Regions from separate parts of the Homo sapiens genome. Here region 1 is linked to region 2. Evidence: promoter capture Hi-C in human tissues and cell types (Jung and others, 2019). All regions are on one chromosome and are shown on one strand. The core of a region is centred on a gene start or on the middle of the fragment in contact, and the rest is flanking DNA. Distances in the headings are between cores, read along the strand shown.

Region 1 (3,251 bases), core at 420-2,919, 160 kb after region 2:
GGCATGAACCACTGTGCCCGGCCTGGCACTTAATTTTTTCACACCGTTTTATAGTTTATGTTTTCTTTCATCTCTGTTACTCAACCTCATTGGCTTAGATCAGGCGTCAGCAAACTTTTTCCAACAAGTGTCAAATAATATTTCATGCTTTGGGGCTCTGAGGTCTCTGTCGAGGTGCAAAGGCTTGGCAGGGACTTTGGTCAGGGGAGGGTGAGAGGAGGTGTAATTGCTAATTACGTCAGGACGGAGGTGTTGGGTGTGCCCCAAGCAGTGACTCAGCTTCAGTGCCAGGGCTCCCTCGGGGTTGCTCTGCGGAGCTCATTTTTCCCTTCAGCATTTTATAAAATGATAGCAGGAGGAGAGATCCTGCTCTTGAGTCCTCACAACCTGTGGGTCCAACTGCAGCCAGGCCCTGAGTGCGGTCGTGGAGGTGACGCTGGAGGGAGGGGAGCGCTTAGGCTTTTTGCAAACAGCCGGGCTGTACTTGCTTCTGGTGAAGCCTGTGATGCAGTCTGGATTTCAGTCAGCCATCACCTTTCTTCTCTTCGCCTTCCTTTGTCTGCATTGGGAGGAGTGGGAAGGAGGAGGGCGGTTTCTGGCCTGGCCTTTCACCTGGCTTTTCTGATTTCTGACTCTTACCTTGGTGTGGATTATTCCTTCTACCTGGAAGGTTTCTGAAAAATGTTTAGGAAAACTACCTCTTTTTTTTTTTTTTTTTGGAGACAGGGTCTTGCTCTGTCACCCAGGCTGGGGTGCAGTGGCGTGATCTTGGCTCACTGCAACCTCCGCCTTCCAGGTTCAAGCGATTCTCCTGCCTCAGCCTCCGGAGTAGCCGGGATTACAGGCATCTGTGACCATGCCCGACTAATTTTTGTGTTTTCAGTAGAGACAGGGTTTCACCATGTTGGCCAGGCTGGTCTCGAACTCCTGACCTCAGGTGATCCACCTGCCTGGGCCTCCCAGAGTGCTCAGATTACAGGCGTGAGCCACCGCGCCCAGTCGGAGAACTACCTTTATTATTGTTCTTGCATCTTAAAAAATTCCCTAAGGCCTTAAAGCCAAGCGATGGTCCTGCACAGGCAAGGCTGGTTTCTGCTTGCTTGGGCTGTGGAATCGCTGGGCTCTCCTCCCCAGCCAAGGGCACCTGAGCAGCTGTTCTGTTGGCAACTGTCCTCTGCGCGAACTTTGAAGGAGACACGTGCTTTCCCAATCATCTCAGTTACTTTCTGGTAAGCCACAGCTGCTTCCTTGACTTTTAGAGCGTGACATTCTGTAATAGAACTGAGCTTTGTGAGACTGTGTTGAAGCTCTGAGCATTCCCAGGAAGGTAGGATTCTGCCTGCATCCTCATCTTCTTGTTAGAATTCCGGAATAGAAACACACACGATACGGAGGCTGGGCCCCGCTTTGGCTAGATCCCCCAGAATGGGGATGCAGGATGTCGTGTCTCCCACAGCCTCATTTTTGGAGACTCTTTTGTAAACACAAGCTAATCCCTGTGCCATGGGTGACCTGTCTATAAGAGGCCTCTGAGCTCATGATACAGGTTGTGGGCTGCGGTGTCGTTGGGGTGCCTGCTCAAGGGGCTCTGGAGTACAATATGCATCTCTCTGCACGTGAGCGTGTGGCTGGGAGGGACGGGGCAGCCCCCTCCTTGCCCAGCTTTCCCCAGCACCCTTGGCTCTTGGTCACTCTCTTCACTGCTGTCTTCATCTCTGATGGAAGTCGCTCTCTCCCTGGGCAGCAGGGGTAGGGTCGCCAGCTCAGGGCTATGCTGGCTGCGTGCTTGGGTGAGGGAGGCATGGGGTTCCGGGAGAGGGGATGGCCATCTCCTTCAGACCCCACTGTCCCTGCACCAGAAGATGCAGTAAGAGAAGCTGCCACTCCAGGTGGCATCATAGCCCTTTTTACATGAGGAAAGTCATCAAAATTTCTTTCCCTGGCATTCTGCGTGTTCTTTCAGATGAAAGGCCAGTTTGGTGCTGGTAAACATCACAGTTCTTGAGACCCATCTAGGCAAGGGTAGTTGCCCAAGTCCTGTGAGTCTGGTCAGCCAGGGCTGGGCTGGCCCCTCAGCAGCTGCTGCTCAGCACGTTTGGAGAGAACCCTGGTCCTGGCCCTGGCACCGCGTGCCTGCCTGCTACCATCCCCTGGTGGGCCACTCCACCCAGAATCCCGTTCTTCCCTTTTCCTGTCCCTGCCTCCAGGAGGGTCAGGCAGCGGCAGGGGCCTGTGGCCAGTGCACCCTTCCCATCACAGAGAAGATTGGCTCCTGCCGGCCATGCTGACCTGGCCCACACTCCCACTCCCCCTACCATGCTGGGCCGCACTGGGTCCATCAAGTCCCCCGTCTGTGTCTTCCTGTCACATCTCCGGTTCCAGGTCGTCTCCTGGGAGAACTCTTCTCTGCCCGCTCAGTCTGACTGCCGTGTCTCTCTAGCCCATCGCTGTGATGTGCGTTTCTGCCTGATGTCCTCATTATCTCCTGTTTTCTTGATTTGTCTCTTTTCCTACTTCCTCCCACTCACATGGAAGTGCCACGCAGGCAGGGGCTTGGCCTGTGTCCACCACCCATCCCTAGCACACAGATCAGTGTATGGCATACAGTAGGTGCTCAAGAAATATGTGTGACCAGATATGCGTTGGTTCTGTTTATTTTGTATATTTCTAACGTCCCTCTAGACATGCAGCCTTTAGTGGTGTTGGGAAGGCCAGGGGTCCAATCTCATGGTGGCTCAGGGTTGACAGATATCTGTGAGTTCCTGTCCCTGAGTGAGGCCCTCTGGGGTGAGCCTTTGGCCATCTCCTGGTGGGCCAAGAGTGGTGACACCCGGGACGTTTGTTGCAGGGCACAGAGGGGCATCTGATCCTGCCTGGGCAGGAAGTACAGAGGGGAAGCCATGGGGGAGCTGTGACTGTCCCTTCTAGGCAGCCATGAGTGACCCGTCAAGAGGCAGCCTGACCTGGAAGCCTTTGGTGACCTAGAAGGGGGAGTGCCCTCACTGCAGTGGCAGGACAGGAATGAGCTGGCCTGGGTGAAGTGTGCATAGTCCAAGTCGAGGCCCATGTGAGTCCATGTGTGGAGGTGAATCCACTCTTCCAGTCTTCCAGCGATGTATTTTTTTTTTTTTTTTTTTAAGACAGAGTTTCGCTCCTGTTGCCTAGGCTAGAGTGCAGCGGCACTATCTCGGCTCACTACAACCTCCACCTCCCAGGTTCAAGCGATTCTCCTGGCTCAGCCTCCCGAGTAG
Region 2 (3,303 bases), core at 143-2,642:
GCTTTCAGCTTGAATGTATAACCAGTTCCCATAATTACTACAATATTACTATTATCTTAGTCTCATTGCCAAAAACCCAGCTGCAGGCTAACTATGCAAGAATGAGACACTGTTGAAATGACTCGGAAAAAAAAAAAAAAAGAAACTTTACCCTCACTGAATTTAGCTACAAAATTCTGCAATTAAATGAAACCAATTCACACACACACACACACACACACACACACACACACACACCCCTTCTTCTAAGAAAGAACAGGATGCCGCTACACAAGGAACCCAGAGAGAAATTCGGCAAACAGTTGCGCCTAAGCCACCGCGGCAGAGTCGGGGGCTGGGGGCGGGGAAGAGGAGAAAACTTGGGAAGCACAATGACTCCAGTGAGGACTTCAGTGAGGGCTCCAGGGCTCCCGCCAAGAAGCCCACGGGGCTCTACCAAACTTGAGGGTTTGCGTTCGGGGACACGGCGGGCTTGGGGCTCGGGCACCGGCAGGCCGCTCGGAGCCCACCCTTGGCTGCCCGCGAGGCCGCGCCCGGGGGACGGAGGTCGGGCCGTCGCGAGCCTCCCTCTCGCGTCCGGGCGAACCCTGCCGACGTCCCTGCGATTTCCCTCTTCCTCCTCCTGCCTCTCCCCTTTTGTTTTTCAGGCATTGGGTCCGCTCCGGCGGAGGCCGGCCCGTCCTCCCCGCGCCTCTGTCCGCCCTGCGCGCCCCCAGAGCCCCGGCCTCCTCGTCTTCCTCAGGCCCCTCGGCCTCTCCGCGCGCCCGGCCTTTTCGAAAGCCGCCCCCCCCTTCCTCCTCACGTCTCCCGGACTCCCCACGTCCCCCAGCCTTTCTGTCTTCCCCGAACCCCTTGGCCTCCCCGCGCGCCCCCAAAACCCCCGACCTCCTCGAGCTCCCGGCCTCCCCACGTCCCTCAGCCTCCCAGTCTTCCCCAAGCCTCCCGACCACCCAGCGCCCCGAACCCCCGCCTCCCAGCGCGCCCCCTGACCTCCTTAAGCCTCTCGGCCTCCGCGAGGGCCCCCAACCTCCTCACGGCCACCGGCCTCCCCTCCTCCCAGAACCCGGGCCGGGGGCGCGGGAGGGGCCGGTCTCCGCCGCATCCGCCCCGGGACTGGTTGGGCGGCCCCGCTCTGCCCCTCCGCCCTCAGGGCCGCGGCCCAGCCCACGACCGCTGCACAGAAGGAGCCCGCCCAGCCCCCGACCCGCGCCCCGCGCCCGGCGCCCCGCACTCACTCGGACCGCGGCTCGGCGCCGTGAAGCGAAGGCAGACGACGACGGGGCGGCGCTGGGCGACAGCAGCCGCGCTTCCTCCCACGCCTCACGCCGCGGGCTCACAGTGGTCCGGGACCGGCGGCGGCGGCGGCGGCGCGGGCTCGCGCCCTCGAGGCCGTGCTGCGTCGGCGCGGGCCCGCGCGCGTGCGCGGCAGCCGGCTGAGGCGCGCGTCCTCTCTCGGCAGCGCACGCCCGACCCGGTCTCAGTCCGGAGTTCCCGCCTCTCGGGGGGACTGGGCATGCGCGCCGCCCCCGCGCATGCCCAGCGCGCCGCTAGGCTCTGCTCGCGTAATTTGTCCTGTAGTGACCGCGCCGGGGTTTCGGGGTGGCCCGAGGCTGCGCGCGGGCGTGGCGGCCGGACGAGGAAAGCCCTGGTCTCGGGGGTGGCCGGGGTCGCCCCGCCGAGCGGACATCCTGGGGTCCCACCTGCCTCGCTCTCCGCCAGCGGGATTAGACGGACTTCGGGAAAGTCCTCCCCATCTCCTTCCCTGCCCCCAAATCCCGAAGGGGTCCCCTCTGGAGAACCTCCCTCCTGAGCGGCCCTGCGGCCCCGCCCCCAGAGTTGGACGCCCGCTGTCGGGCACCCGCTGCGGGCCCCGGGCCTTGCAGTGCACTCTCCAGGCACCACACCGACCCTAACGAGCGGTTCCTGGGCCCTTTTTGCAGACAAGGAAACTGAGGCTCAGAGATTCTTTTCATGGCATTATAGCTAAGTTGGGCTGGGCCATTATTTGATTTTGGAAGATGAAAAATCATGAAAGGGACTTAGAAGTCCACTGGAGGTAGACAGGTTACCTAAATGAACGCCAGCAGGGAACGAGCCCTGCAATCCCTCCCGAGGGCTACAGACCTGAGACGGGCTCCAGGAAAAGGAGGGAAGGCTCGCCCCGACACCGACCCGGGCTTCCGCGGTGTGAGCCAGTTTCAGCGAGGAGCTAGTTGGTTATGACCGGAACGTGCCGTAGGTGGGGTGGGGGAAATAGCAAAAGGCGAGGTTGGAGGGATTGAAAAATGCAGACGGCTGCGTGGGGCTTGCTTAGGTGCCTGGAGTTTATTCTTTAGGCAACAGGGAACCTTTGGAGGGCTTTAAGCAGGAAGTGATAACTGATTTGTGTTATTTAAAAAAAAAAAAAAGTCACTCTGGCAACCTTGTGGTCGGAAATGAAACCAGAAGAACCCTCAAGGCTGCAACTTTCATTTTTATGGTGTCATTTTGATGCTAACCACAAGCCAGGAAGCAGGACAGACAGGCACCGAGGCCTTTTGAAAGGTGAACACCCTGAAGCCCAGAGAGGTGACACACGTCATTGCATTAGGAGCTTTTATAAAAGTAAAAATGAAGTAAAATAAAAAGCTTTTGCTTATCAAGATTTTACCATATTTAAATGTTTGGGTTGTATTGTTCTTTAATGAGATGTATTAAGGTTGGTGTTTTTCTGGGTTTTGTTACTTTTTACTACATATGAAATTGTAAGGAATTGCCTCTCCATGCCAGCCTCAGGCCTTTGCGCGTGCTATTTGCTCTGCCTGGAACTTCTTGCTCCTCACTTCGTTCAATACCCTGCTTATATATCACCTCATTGATACAGCCGACCACTTCATATAATAGGAACCACCCACTGCCCTGCTATCCTCACACACAGTCCGCACTTAGTCTGCTCTGTTGTTCTCCAAAGCACCTATTGTTCACCATAGCCCAACACTGTGTTCTTGTTTATTTCTTGATTGTCCGCTCTCTCCACTAGAATCTTAGATTCATTAGAGCACGGGCTTTGTTTTGTTCACTAATAGGTCCTGGCACACAGTAAGTATTTGTCAAGTGAATGAACGAAGCTTTGGGTGATGTGAAGTGAGAGCTTATTATTAAAAGGATAAGAAAAGCATGGGAATTAAAAGAGGAGAGTGGAGGCACAAAGGGACTGCATTAAGGATAACTTTGGGGGAAGGGGCTGCACTTAGCATAGTAGACTAAAAATGGCCATCAATTCTTTGACACTTTTCCCAAGAAGAGGTGGAATTTATTCACCCC

Evidence for each region. The method cuts DNA at HindIII sites, captures the fragments that hold promoters and counts their contacts. A contact is called where the count stands out against the background at its distance.
Region 1: a fragment that was not itself captured here is called in contact with the fragment with the promoter of PTK2 in region 2 in 1 of the 25 tissues and cell types used here (heart right ventricle).

The regions. Positions count from the first base shown.
Region 1 is chr8:141,157,059-141,160,309 of GRCh38, forward strand. The region is part of intron 8 of DENND3 (DENN domain containing 3); the gene reads left to right. Among named protein-coding and RNA genes, the nearest start is that of DENND3-AS1, 29 kb to the left of the region's middle. RefSeq lists enhancers at 1-717, 1,508-1,627. The HindIII fragment of the contact is 8,395 bases long and covers 1-3,251 here.
Region 2 is chr8:140,999,890-141,003,192 of GRCh38, forward strand. It overlaps PTK2 (protein tyrosine kinase 2), which reads right to left and starts at 1,393. Exons shown (of 36, transcript NM_001352702.2): 1 at 1,236-1,393. RefSeq lists silencers at 1,058-1,387, 1,408-1,827. The HindIII fragment of the contact is 8,254 bases long and covers 1-2,867 here.